3 separate regions of the Homo sapiens genome follow, and all the other regions are linked to region 3. The links are contacts of gene promoters, found by promoter capture Hi-C in blood cells and fetal thymus (Javierre and others, 2016). All regions are on one chromosome and are shown on one strand. Each heading gives the region's core, a stretch centred on a gene start or on the middle of the fragment in contact. The rest is flanking DNA. Distances are from core to core; before and after follow the strand shown.

Region 1 (4,738 bases), core at 787-3,286, 1.2 Mb after region 3:
CGCGCGCCGCCCCTGCGGCTGCCCCCTAGGCGGGGAGGACCCGCCGGGTACACCGGCCGCGACCCCCCGCGCTGCCTGCTGCTGCGCGCCGCAACCAGCGGAGGACGAGCCCCCCGCGCCGCCCGCGGTGTGCCCCAGGAAGCGCTGCGCGGCGGGGGTGGGCGGCGGCCCAGCGGGCTGCCCGGCGCCCGGCTCGACCCCGCTCAAGAAGCCCCGCCGGAACTTAGAGCAGCCGCCGAGTGGAGGAGAGGACGACGACGCGGAGGAGATGGAGACCGGGAACGTGGCTAACCTCATCAGCATCTTCGGTTCCAGTTTCTCGGGACTCCTACGGAAAAGCCCCGGGGGCGGCAGAGAGGAAGAGGAGGGAGAGGAGAGCGGTCCGGAAGCCGCCGAGCCCGGGCAGATCTGCTGCGATAAGCCGGTGCTGAGAGACATGAACCCCTGGAGCACAGCCATCGTGGCCTTCTGAGCCCTTGGCCCCCCTGCGGGGAGGAGGTGGAGCAGCGGGCGTCCCCGAAGTGAGGGCCAGGCCCTTCCCGGCTGCGAGGACGCCCAGAGACCGCGGGCGCTGAGCGCGTTGGGCAGACTGGTTGCCTCTGGGCATCGCAAACTGCCCCCGGGCGCATCTGGCTTATCTGGAGACCTGGGAGCTTGAGGCTCATTGGAAGAGGACGATCGTTAACTTTTGTGTTTGTGTATGTCTGTGTATGTAAGTTTGTCTTGTGGCATTAAGACTATTTTGCTCTTCTGGAATGCACCACTCCTTCCCCAGGGTTTAAGAGATTGGGGGCAGACAGGGACTTTCCTCTGCCGGCTGCGTGGAGAAGGAAGCGGCTAAAAGGTTTGGGCCGGGGAGTTCCCCATTCGTTCTCCGGGGAGGGAGGGACTTTACACCTACCCCTCACCGGAAAGCTAGACCCGCTTCAGGGCCAGGAGTGGCGTTTCCGCACAGGATTTCCTAAGACGAGAGGGATTTAGCCAAGAGCACAGACTTGGATTCCTTCTGTCCCTCCCCACCTTTCTCTCCCAATGAAGAAACGTTTATATCCTGTGATTACTCTAGGAAAGGGGCGTATTAACGGTCCTTTGCTTCCCCGCAGGGGAGAAAAAGCTTGACGAACTTCACAGAAGAGTTCAAGCTTGGAAATAATGGAGTTTATAGAGAAAAGATATATTTTTAAAAGCTCTAGGTCAGAAGTACTACACAGTGCTTTTAAAAAGTGTTTAATGAGAGTTTACAGACAGAAGCCCGAAGTGGAAAGACCTTATGGTTTTGTAGATATGGTGACTCCAGTCTTTGTTGTATAAAGGTTGGGGGAGCTGATAAGGTTTTTGTACAGTATTTTCTCCTTCGTTGTATTGATTTTTGTATAAAAATGTAACTTCTACGTGTCTAACACGTATTAAATATTTTGAAGCAACGTAACTGCCTGCTTGTCTGTAATAACCTGCCTGGGTTGGGAGGGAAGTGGGAGGAGGGAAACCAGGGCCTGAGCTAGAAAATTGAAGGTGTGGTTCTTAGTATCAGTCATTCGCAGACTGAGGACATTGTTTACTGACTCCACTAAGTATCAAGAGAGACACGTTTAATTTTTCCTCCTAGATCAGAGGACTGCTATTAGATACTAATATCGGCGACCTGTCAGGTTCTAGAAACCTGCCACTACAACTGCCTTTTCTAAGGTCAGTTTAGACCAATTTGTCACCCAATATGTGGGTGTCTAATACTAAGTAATTTAACCAACTTTTGAAGCCCCGCTTATCCACAAAAATGTTTTTCAGCAAAACTTTGTTTCCTGTTAAGCTATTAATACGGGTCATCTTTTAGCTTTGTAATTGAAAAAAAAAAAGTTTAGATAGTAGTTTACCTTAAAAGCCCATTCGAACTGACATAGGAAGATGAAAGAGACTGACTTGTCCAAATTGTCAGGTCCACCTCTGCATCACAGTGGATGTCAGGATGTAAATTTTCAGTTTTTCTCTTACATCTAGAAAGTAAATATATTGCTGAGAGGGAAATTGTTTGCATCAAACCAGATAAGGAAGGAGGGCTAGGCAAATTTAGTTCTCATTTAGCAAAACTTCCTGATTTGTTTTGTTACTTAAATGGTGACATCAGTGTTTGGTCATGGTAGACACTTAGGTGATGATAGCCAAAACATCCATCGATTTTACTAAAATCACTGCCATTAAGAGAGTTTTTTGTCTCTTCATGTTCAATGTTTGAAAGGTATTCAGTAATCTATTTCAGAAGCAAATCAATTAGGGAATGGTGTTTATTAAAATACGGTACAGTTGCCAGGACTTTAAAAGATGGTACTGGTTTCTAACAACTTACGAGTATATAGGGTATTTAAAAGATGGGAGAGATTGAAGAAAGACAAAGGTTTAAAGGTCATAGCCTTCGAGCATAAGAGGCATATGAATGGTGTCTTGGCCTTAACTCCCAATTATACGAACTTCTGTTTTAGCTGAATAGGCCAGTGCCTCGTGCCTTGATATTTCGGCAAATCTATTAGTGGTTCCTTAAGCATAGGGAACTTTGTACTTTATGCTCTGTCGCCATAATAATGTATTTATAGAATTAAACATTCTCAAATTAGGGTCTTGTTAAACTGACTTTTTCTTTCAGAAAGTAGCTACTTAAATTCTGTTACAGCTACAAAAGATCCATCAAGTGCTGACTGCTTAAACTGAAGAAGGTGTCCAGGGCCTTAATTCTGCAAACATTTCCTGTTGTTAGAAAGTATGATGCTTGAACAGCGATCTCAGTGTATTTTATGTTTTAAAGGGGGTAACGTTTGGTGTGTTTAAGAGAGCTGATGTGTTTTGGATGAGACTAAAGTTGATCCTTGGTTTTACATTAAGATGAACCTGGGTCCATGTGTCTGCTTAAAGAATGTAAATTGGCATACTTGATAGGAGGATAAAGCTTTGTAGGAATTAGAAAAGATCATTCTCTTTTTTGTTGCAGAAGCAGTATAGTATAGTAGTTAGAGCATGGGCCCTGGAGCCAGGCTGCTTGGTGTCTTCCTTTATTTATTTATTTATTTAATTATAAAAAGTAAATATAAAGTGAGCTATGTTGACCAGGTTCGTCTTGAACTCCTGGCCTCAAGCAATCCTCCTGCCTCAGCCTCCCAAAGTGCTGGGATTACAGGCATGAGCCACCACAACCTGGCCTGCTTGGGTTTTTCTATCTTGGCTCTGCCACCTAGCTGTGGGTCCTTGGACAAGTTACTTCATCTCTCTGTGCCTCAGGTTTTTCAAATGTAAAATTGGGATAATTGGATCTGTCTCATAGGGTTGTGAAAATTAATGAGTTAATGCTCTTAGAAGAGTACCTCATATGTAATAAGCACGCAACTGTTAATTATTGTTAATGTAGAAGTTAATTCTGTGTATAAATCAGATACACTGTGGTCAAAGATTTGTGTGTATTTGTAAGAAAAGAGGAGAATGGAGAATCTATTTTTAAGTGGTCCTATGTGTGAATGCTGGGTTCTTTTATTCCTCTTTTTCTCTGGACACTTGGCAGTCAGGAAGCTTTGTTCTACCAACATAGTTTTGTTGCTGTGAATGTCTCACACCAACCGGATGATTTTTCCAATTGTATCAAACAACTCTATTTTCAGGGAGGAGTAAGCTGAAGTGAAAACAGGCAAGGAGCAAAGTTCTTGTTGACATACAAATGCTTTCTGTGGATGAGTAAAGAAAAAAGTAGCCCATAAAGTTATTTTTGCTTGAATTATTGCGCATGGAATGTTTAAAACATGCTTATTGATAGGTTCTGGACAAGAGCCTTCCCAATGCCAACCTAGGGCTATCACACAACCAAATCAGATGCAGTGTGACTAGAAACGATGCCATGGTTTTAGTACCTAACCACTTCTTCACCACTCTGGGAGGGACCTAGTCTCTTGATCAAATTAACCTTAGCTCTGGGGTGTAAAAAAACCTTCTGACTGCTGCGTAAAAGCCAGATGTTTAAAGTGCTTTCCAACAAGTACTCCAAGAAGATCACATTAATAGGGAATAAAGTCTGGGCGCGGTGGCTCACACCTGTAATCCCAGCACTTTGGGAGGCCGAGGCAGGTGGATCACCTGAGGTCAGGAGTTCAAGACCAGCCTGGCCAACATGGTGAAACCCTGTCTCTACTAAAAATATAAAAATTAGCCAGGTGTGGTGGTGGGAAAAAAGAGAATAAAGGGATAAATGTTAGTAATGTATTTTTTTTTTTGAGACAGAGTCTTGCTCTGTCACCCAGGCTAGAGTGCAGTGGTGTGATCTCAGCTCACTGTAACCTCTGCCTCCCTAGTTCAAGCGATTGTCCTGCTTCAGCCTCCCAAAGTGCTGGGATTACAGGCATGCACCACCACGTCTGGCTAACTTTTGTATTTTTAGTAGAGACGGGGTTTCACCATGTTGACCAGGCTGGTCTCAAACTCCTGACCTCCGGTGATCCACCTGCCTTGGCCTCCCAAAGTGCTGGGATTACAGGCGTGAGCCACTGCCCCCGGCCTAGTATGTACTTCTCAACCATGTTGTTTTAACCCTGTCTTCCCTTTTAGAAACCATCATTTGTTCTTGGCGATGGGAACTAATGATGGAAAGCCTGAATTGCTCCTCCAAGGTGACTGGGTTTTCTTTATGGCACCAAATAACCTTTCCATTCCTTCTACTCATCACTGATTGGATTTGGGAGTGTGAAGTGAGAGGAAATGGGTCATTTGA
Region 2 (4,413 bases), core at 1,160-3,659, 1.1 Mb after region 3:
TGCACACATGCTCTAACAGAGTGGCTTCAATGTAACTGGACTTGTTACATGTTAGCTCAGGGTAGCCTATACTTGTGTTCCAAGATGAAAGATGCAGATGGAAGGTATAGTGGTTGTCTTTTATGACTTAAGCTTCAGGAGTCAAGCAGCGTCACTTCTGCTTCAATCTGCTAGTCAAAGCAGTTTATAAAGGTCTGCCCAGGTTCAAAGGAAGGGAATACAAACTCCAGTTTGATAAAAGAATGCCAGCTTCACAATTTAATAAAAACAAACAGCCGGGCGTGGTGGCTCACGCCTGTAATCCCAGCACTTTGGGAAGCCGAGGTGGGTGGATCACCAGGTCAGGAGTTCGAGACCAGCCTGGCCAATACAGTCAAACCGTCTCTACTAAAAATACAAAAATTAGCCGGGTGTGGTGGCATGCACCTGTAAACCCAGCTACTCAGAAGGCTGAGGCAGAAGAATCGCTTGAACCCAGGAGGCGAAGGTTGCAGTAAGCCGAGATTGCACCACTGCACTCCAGCTTGGGAGACAGAGCAAGACTCCATCTCAAAAAAAAAAAAGAAAAAAAAAGAAAGAAAAGCAACACAGGACAGAACATTTATTGGTGCAGCCATCAATGGAAAAAATACAATCTGCCACAACTCTTTTATCTGGGACAGCACCTACTCTGCAAGTCTTTACAGAGGGATCCCCATTTCATCAATACAGTAAAAGAGGCTAGTCAAGGCTGAAAGTTTCCATTCTAGTAATGAAACATGAAAAATTCAGGTTGAGTGAGCCTCTGCAACACATCAGACTCCCACTCCTCACTCTTCTCCAACTGGTTCCTGCCCCATACCCCACAAACCTGGTTTCACCACTCATCTCTCCAGAAAGAGAGGAACTCTTTTTATTGCTTGACTTCTACATTCACATCGTTTGTATTTGAAAGGAAACACATGCACACCCTTTACTTGACTTTATTGCCATTTCCAAATTCAACCACACTGTGACATATTTTGTAATTACTCTTGTGAAAATGAAACATCATTTTTACTCAGTTACCTACAATTATATACAATTTTTGACCCTAACTTACTGCTGCTTCCACAACTCCACCAATGACACTGCAGGTCAAAGTCACGAGTGAATTTAACTTGTCCTCATTTTTGGTGCACTTGACACTATGGCCCATTATATCTATTTGCTTGAAACTCTCACTTTCTCTGTCTCTGTGACATTGTGCTGTTCTAGTTTTCTACCAGTTTTCTCCTTCCTCTTCCTCCACTGGATCCCAATGTTTCTCAGTACTCTTTGTGGCCTCTATGTGCTCATCAGCATTCACAAGTTCAAAGCACCCCTCTTAAGCTGATGACTCCCCCACTATACTTCCAACCCTAACCACTCAGCCAGGCTTAATTCCTATATTTTTAGCTGCCTATAGGATCATTCCATTTGCCTAAAACCAAATTAATCATATCCTCCCTACAAAACATAATGTATTCAAAACAAACAAAATAGAAAAATCTGCTTCCCTTTCTAGCTTCCTCATTTTAGCCAATAGTGCCACCATTTTCCAAGTTTCAACACTTGTCTAGACAAGAGTCATTTTTGACTCCTCCTCCTCCTTACCTTGCACAACCTCTACTTAAATCCAATCACTGAATTTTCAGATCTGGAAAGAACTTTCAAGATAATCTAGTTTGTGCTCCTTAAACATAAATAAGAGACCTTGGGGCTCAGACATATTGGCTGCTTGCCTCAAGTTCTTCCAACCCTGATTATAAGACACTTTCTATTACCAAGACTTATTTAATTGCATTTTTCCAAAACTTCCACACAAATCTTTTTTTTTTTTTTTGAGAGGGAGTTTTGCACTGTCACCAGGGCTGGAGTGCAGTGGCGTGATCTCAGCTCACTGCAAAAGAGGGTTCAAGCAATTCTCCTGCCTCAGCCTCCCAAGTAGCTGGGACTACAGGTGCCCACCACCACACCCAGCTAATTTTTTGTATCTTTGGTAGAGATGGGGTTTCACCATGTTGGCCAGGCTGGTCTCGAATTCCTGACCTCATGATTCGCCTGCCTTGGCCTCCCAAAGTGCTGGGATTACAGGCATGAGCCATCGCACCTGGCCCACAAATCTGTTTTCTTTGTAGAATCAGAAGATCTGGGTTTGAACCCTTAAAAGCTGACTATAAGCAAGTGAATAGTAACTGCTAGTTTAAAAACTGCCTCCTGATTTAGAATTTATGATAGAAATCAGATTAAATTTAAACTCCTCAGGCAGGTATTCAAACCCTCTCCCACTCCTCCTCCTAACCCAAACTGGCTGACTTTAGTATCAAGCATGGTTTCTCACTGAACAAATTCTGTTTCAGTTGGCAGGTCTTCTTCCCATCTTTATCTTTCTCATTCCTGGTTCTTGACTTCCACTCAGTTGTTTCCCCAGCCTAGAAGAGCCTTACACCTCAGCAGACACTTCCTTTAAGGCCCAGATTGACCAGCATTCCCAGCATGGGTCTTTCTTTTTTTTTCAATCTCCACAGCATCTCAACTCTACTGCAAAATCTTACACAATATATCTTTCACTTATCTGCATAGTGTTCTCCAAACTAAGGAGCTAAATAATATTAAACACTCAAATTTATAATAAAGGCTTGCAAATTTGTTCTTACAACGAAACACTGGATTCTGCTTTTTAGAAAGTATTAAATTTGATTTACATTCAATTTTACTAGGCCAAAATTAACAAACAAGGGTTATTTTTTTCACAGTGACTATACCAATACAGTTTTTCAACAGTGAATAGAATGCGTGATGCCCTCGAGGAGCTCATAATCTAGTGTTAATAAAGCTAGATATGCAGACAGAGAAGGTTAAAGAACACAACATAACATATACCATCTTACTCATCAGCTTACTTATGTCATTATTTCAACATCAATCCACAGCCAAAAACCTGGAAATAAAACTGTTATCATGCTGGGTGCGGTGGCTCATGCCTGTAATCCAAGCACTTTGGGAGGCCGAGGCGGGCAGATCACCTGAGGTCAGGAGTTCAAGACCAGCCTGGTAAACACAGTGAAACCCTGTCTCTACTAAAAATACAAAAACTATCCGGGCGTGATGGCGGGCTACTCGGGAGGCAGAGGCAGGGAGAAGTGCTTGAACCCGGGAGGCGGAGGTTGCAGTGAGCCAAGACGCGCCACTGCACTCCAGCCTGGGTGACAGAATGAGACTCTGTCTCAAAAACAAACAAACAAACAAAAAAACCATCCTCGGCTGGGCGCAGTGGCTCATGCCTGTAATCCCAGCACTTTGGGAGGCCGAGGTGGGAGGATCACGAGGTCAGGAGATCGAGACCATCCTGGCTAACACAGTGAAACCCCGTATCTACTGAAAATACAAAAAAAAAAAAATTAGCTGGGCGTGGTGGCGGGCACCTGTAGTCCCAGCTACTCAGGAGGCTGAGGCAGGAGAATGGCGTGAACCCGGGAGGCGGAGCTTGCAGTGAGCCGAGATCGCGCCACTGCACTCCAGCCTGGGCAACAGAGTGAGACTCCGTCTCAAAAAAACAAACAAACAAACAAACAAAAAACTATCCTCATCAGACACACAAAACCTCCACAGCAATAAAATAGCAAAGAGCCATGGTATTTGTACCTTTTATCCACAGGAGTGGCTCACTTATACTCTGTCTCCACATGCTCAGTTACATGGTTTTCTTCAGGGTTTGTCTGATTAGAAGGTGCAAATTCTAAAAGGAGGCTAATTCTAAAAACTTGCCAACAAGGGAGGAAAAAAACTACAGAACTAAACAATCAAAATGGGTTCACTCAACAAACACTGAGTACATCCTTACTGAATACAAAGATGAAGACTACAAGATTTAAATATGATATTTTCACCCGGAGATTAGTAAAGATTTTTTTAATGAAAATCCCAGTACTGGAATCAAGGGAATTGGGTCCCTCAAACACTTTGAGGGGCAAGGGGGAATATTCTGGAGGACAACGTGGTAGTATGCATCAAACGCTTTGCTGTGCCTGCCCTCTGAATTAGCAATTATGCTCCAGGAATACAGGCTATGAAAATCAGAAGCAGCAATACAGACCTATGACAAGTAGGCTTATCACCACATTAATTGTAGTGTGATCATAAATATAATGTATCTTCCAGGATGAACATTTATATGACAAAATACAATGCAGTCATTAAAAGCTGCCACCCAGAAGTCTGAAGGATATAAAGAAATACAGATGAAAACGTCATAAAACAGGCCAGGCGCGGTGGCTCATGCCTATAATCCCAACACTTTGGGAAGCCAAGGTGTGTGGATCACCTGAGGTCAAAGTTCAAGACCAGCCTGGCTAACAGGGTGAAATGCCATCTCTACTAAAAATACAAAATTAGCCAGGCATAGTGGCGCAC
Region 3 (4,794 bases), core at 1,892-4,391:
CTGAGGTAGGAGGATCACTTGAGACTGGGAGGTCAAGGATGCAGTGAGCCGTGATTGTGCCACTGCACTCCAGCCTGGATAAGAGAGAGAGATCCTATCTCAAAAAAGAAACAAACAAAAAACTGTAAATACTGTTACTTTTATACAAAGAAAGTTATAAGTCAGCCTCCAGGATCAAGTCCAATCTACAAATATGACCTAACATCCATAAAGCAAATCTACAAATATAGAACCCAATATAGCACTATCCTCTAAGGTCAGACTGCCTAGACCTGAATGACTGCTCCAGCTTCTGACTTGGTGTTTCTCTCTCTCTCTCTATGCCCTTGGTTTTCTTTGTTTTTTGTTTTGTTTTTGAGATGGAGTCTCGCTCTGTCGCCCAGGCTGGAGTGCAATGGCGCGTACTCAGCTCACTGTAACCTCCGCCTCCCAGGTTCAAATGATTCTCCTGCCTCAAGCCTCCCGAGAAGCTGGGATTACAGGTGCCCGCCACCACGCCCAGCTAATTTCTTTGTATTTTTAGTAGGGACAGGGTTTCACCATGTTGGCCAGGTTGGTCTCAAACTCCTGACCTCAAGTGATCCACCCACCTTGGCCTCCCAAAGTGCTGGGACTATAGGCGTGAGCCACTGCACCCAGCCCCTGGCTAATTTTTTCCTTGGTTTTCTTAATTACAAAATGGAATAATAGTACTTAGATGAAAGAGGCAGTGTGAAGATCAAATGAGATAATGTGCAATACTGGCAACCACAGGGGCACAAAAGAAGTCCTCAAAAACCGTAAATAATTATTATTTGAACTATTAAAGGCAAAACCAGACAGCTTCATTTATATAATTAAAACCCCAGAAGACACCAATGTTTCAAAATTTGACTTTTTCCAAAAATGTCATTACATTTACATGATAGATACTCATGGTCAAGGGCTGAAGGAAAATCTCTAAAAATCAAACAATTTGATTTGTTGAGGTAGTGGAGTTATAGGTGAATTTTCTTCCCAGAAATTTCGATTACCAAAATTATGTGCACAGTTCATACCAGAGCCATGGCACCAAAAAAAAAAAAATCATGTGCCAGCTCCTTTAAATATTAGTAAAGAGGAAAACAGCCCACACAGTAACAAAATAGGAATTCAAACCCAGCTATGACTCCAGTCTATGCTCATTACCAATGTTAGGGACACGCTTCCTTATTCCCAAGTGCTTGATTTCTGTGCAAAATTTATGGTAATATATGATCGCCCTATGAATTCCTTCTTGTAGGACACAGTTTAATCCAGTAGTTCATATGATGTAGAAATATTAATGAAATTTTAACACAATCAAAATTCTAAATGGTAAATAAAACAGCCAATTCTTCATTCTTTAAATTTTTTTGGAAGTTGTCGAATCTCCAAGTTTATGGGCCTTCACAGTTGACTTAGTGAACAACCTCAAAGTGATAAAGCAGACAAGGCTTTTTGAAGCAAACATTCCTTCAGGAAATTCAAGTGGCACTTCAAAGAAGTGTGGACTTTCCTGGAATAGAATTTTGACTTCTGTGTTCCATGGAAATGAATGGAATACAGAAATTACTTCTTAGGCAAAAATAAGTTATATACAAGATACAATACATTATTAAAACACCCAATAATCCTCAAATAATTAGCTACATTCTGAAGTTAATTTATTTATAAATTATTGAAGCTCTCAAGCTAGCATTACCTCTACATTAGGAAAGAAACTAGATAAAATAGTTCTTAAATGAGTCACGCAAGGTTGCGTAACAAACCAGCAGAAAAACAGGTAATCAAGTTGTGGACTGCACGTTCAGCATAATAAACATTACTGAAGACAGGCACTCAGTTTTCATAACAAATGTTAGTTTTTCAAACTATTCTAATCCACACAAAGTCTTCCAAAAACATCTGTAGTTACTCTACCATGAAGTTCCTTTTTTTATTAAATGTTTCCACTGGCCTTTTATATCCTCATCTTGTGCTCAAAAAAAAAAGCTCAAAAAACATGGATAACTGCCACAGCTTAAAACAAAGAAAGGATCTCTCATACAGATCCAAAATAAAATGTGTTAAAACCTAAAGACAGGTAAAACAAAGCCAGTATGTTTAATCTATGTAACTCATTTCTGGATCTGTGTAACAGTATAAAGTCTGATAATTAAGCATTACTCATAAAGTAGAGAGTACTATGAAATTTGTTAAAAGAAGGAAAAGGCACAAACTTTTTCATCAGGTATTAAATACAATTGGGAGAATGGTACATATATAATATGTAAGCAAAATGGTAGGAGGTCTTACTAAAACTTCAACTTTGCCCTTTTTAGCACCAATTTTTTTTTTTTTTAAGTATTATCTTTTCAGGATTAAGATTATGAATGTCGAGAACCTAGGCATGTTGGGAATGGAGTAATCGCCGCCTACACTAGTAGGCAAATTTCCCACTCACATTTCGAACCCTAAAATAATTCGGCTTCTCACCTTAAAGTCTAAACCCAAAAATTTACTCACATCTTAACCCATTTAATATTTATAAGATTCAGTTTCTTTTTATCCCAAAACAAAAATATACCCCCAACCTACCTCGTTTACTGTTTGAGTGAGGCCAGGCGTGGTGGCTCACGCCTGTAATCCCAGCACTTTGGGAGGCTGAGGTGGGAGAATCGCTTGAAGCCAGGAGTTCGAGACCAACCTGGGCAATACAGTGAGACCCTGTCGCTATAAAAATAAAAAATAAAGTAATTAGTAGGGCATGGTGGTGCGGGCCTGTAGTTCCAGCTACTTGGGAGGCTGAGGCGGGAGGATCCCTTGAGCCCAGAAGTATGAGGCTGTGGTGAGCTATGATCACGCCACTGTACTCTAGCCTCGGTGACAGGGCAAGTACCTGTCTCAAAAACAATAAAAATAAAAATACCATTTGTGCGGTACGAAGGTGGGGGTGGGGAGGGACCGTTTCTGAAAGTCCTTTTCAAAAATTCAAGATATCAGTTTCAATACTAAAACATGGAAAAGCTGCATAGTCATTTTGTTTACTTACAAATTCTGGCGAAGTTTTAAATCGTAAAACTGTTAGTATCAGGAGAGCCCTTCGAGTATTCTCTCCGCTCCACACCGCTCGGCTGCACCCAGCGGCCGCCGCGGCCCGAATGTCGTCCAGGGTCCCCGCCCATATGACAAACACTTTCCGCCGGAAGGCGCCCGTGGAATCCTGGGACTAGTAGTCTCCGTGCCCTGCCTTCTGCCTTCTCCATCCTTCACCCTCTACTGCCAGGTCGTCTGACCCAGCGACAGGCGCGGTAAATGCGCGACCAAACCGCAGAGGTCCCATGCAATCTCATGCTGACAGGATTACAGGCATCTCTGTAAGACGTCGACCACCCTGACCTGAAATTCATAGACTGAAGAAACTCATAGGACCAACACAGTGAGCAGCAGTACCAAATGATAATGGCAAGCACCATGTCCTGGAACACACCCTCTGTGCCATTAAGAGGAGCATGTAATCCAATGAGTTGCCTAATCTAAACCTCAGTTTGCTCGTGTGTCAAATGGGGACAACGTTACTTACCTCATAAGTTTGTTATTAGTAGATTAGATGACGTATGCAGCATTTCTGTTAAATGACAGTAGTGACAAAAAATAGCTGTTTTGATCTACTAATTTTATAAATGTGAAAATTAAGAGATGGCGAGCAATTTACCCAAGAACATACAATTTGTTGGGGGAAAAATGAAGTAAGTCTAAAATTCCTGTTCTTGACCTACAGCAATTCAGGACAAATCTAACCAAATTTCAAGAAGAAATCTATTCATGTAAAACTCCCTTCCCCTTTCCTCTTTTTTTTCCCATAACAGTCCTGACCAACACACTATTTTACTTATTTTGATTTTTGCCCGACTCCTCCCATAGAATATAATCTCCAAGAAGGCAGGAAACATTTTTTGTCTTTTAGTCTATTTTGTTCACTGCTGTATCCCCAGCACAGAGAACAGGGACTGCCTACTACACAGTAGCTCAAGTATTTATTGAATTAATAATTCCTCATTTAATGTGATTTTTGGTGCCTTCACTTCTCAATCACCCTCTCTTGGCAGAAGTGACAGGATTTGGTAACACTCTTGGATGGTGTTTAATAATTAACTGCAAGTCCTAATTCAACAAAAAGAATACTATATTCCATTCACTTTATTGTGTTTAATTAATTTCAGTATAACATTTCCAGGAATTTTCATTTGTATTGTCATTAAAATATTTTTCTATCATTTGTAAGACTGGGGAATAAATGGAGCCAGCTACTATGTCTTTAATTAACTTCCTCCTGTTTAATATTTTAATCATCTTTTCCTTATTAAAATTGTTTGCCTACTTCATTTGTACTACTAAGTCACAACGGATAGATTTATCTCTTTAAATAAATGAACTTCTGCTTACCCTAAAGCAAAAAGTTCCTGTACAAAAAATTTATTGTTCTAAAATGTTTCATTTAAAATAATTATTTTGGCCAGGCGTGGTGGCTCACACCTGTAATCCCAGCACTTTGGAAGGCCAAGGCGGATGGATCACCTGAGGTCAGGAGTTCAAGACCAGCCTTGCCAACATGGCAAAATCCATGTCTACTAAAAATACAAAAATTAGCTGGGCATGGTGGCAGGCACCTGTAATCCCAGCTACTCGGGAGGCTGAGGCAGGAGGATCACTTGAACCTGGAGTTGGGGGAGGCTGCAGTAAGCCGAGATTGCACCACTGCACTCCAGCCTAGGCGAAAGAGCGAGACTCCGTCTCTAAATAAATAAATTAATT

Evidence for each region. Contacts are between HindIII fragments. The CHiCAGO score rates a contact against its expected background, and 5 or more counts as called.
Region 1: a fragment that was not itself captured here is called in contact with the fragment with the promoter of TOR1AIP2 in region 3 in 1 of 17 cell types (total CD8 T cells); the score reaches 5.4 in total CD8 T cells.
Region 2: a contact is called between a fragment that was not itself captured here and the fragment with the promoter of TOR1AIP2 in region 3, in 1 of 17 cell types (neutrophils). The highest score is 5.0, in neutrophils.

Annotation. Positions count from the first base shown.
Region 1 is chr1:181,089,415-181,094,152 of GRCh38, forward strand. IER5 (immediate early response 5) reads left to right here. Exons shown (of 1, transcript NM_016545.5): 1 at 1-3,486. The coding sequence ends at 472. Among named protein-coding and RNA genes, the nearest start is that of IER5, 3.1 kb to the left of the region's middle. RefSeq lists silencers at 5-224, 799-1,093 and an enhancer at 615-784. The HindIII fragment of the contact is 1,793 bases long and covers 1,141-2,933 here.
Region 2 is chr1:181,013,843-181,018,255 of GRCh38, forward strand. The region is part of intron 1 of STX6 (syntaxin 6); the gene reads right to left. Among named protein-coding and RNA genes, the nearest start is that of STX6, 6.8 kb to the right of the region's middle. The HindIII fragment of the contact is 4,559 bases long and covers 131-4,413 here.
Region 3 is chr1:179,874,662-179,879,455 of GRCh38, forward strand. TOR1AIP2 (torsin 1A interacting protein 2) reads right to left here and starts at 3,142. Exons shown (of 7, transcript NM_001199260.2): 1 at 3,032-3,142; 2 at 2,578-2,712. RefSeq lists an enhancer at 3,117-3,476. The HindIII fragment of the contact is 9,006 bases long and covers 1-4,794 here.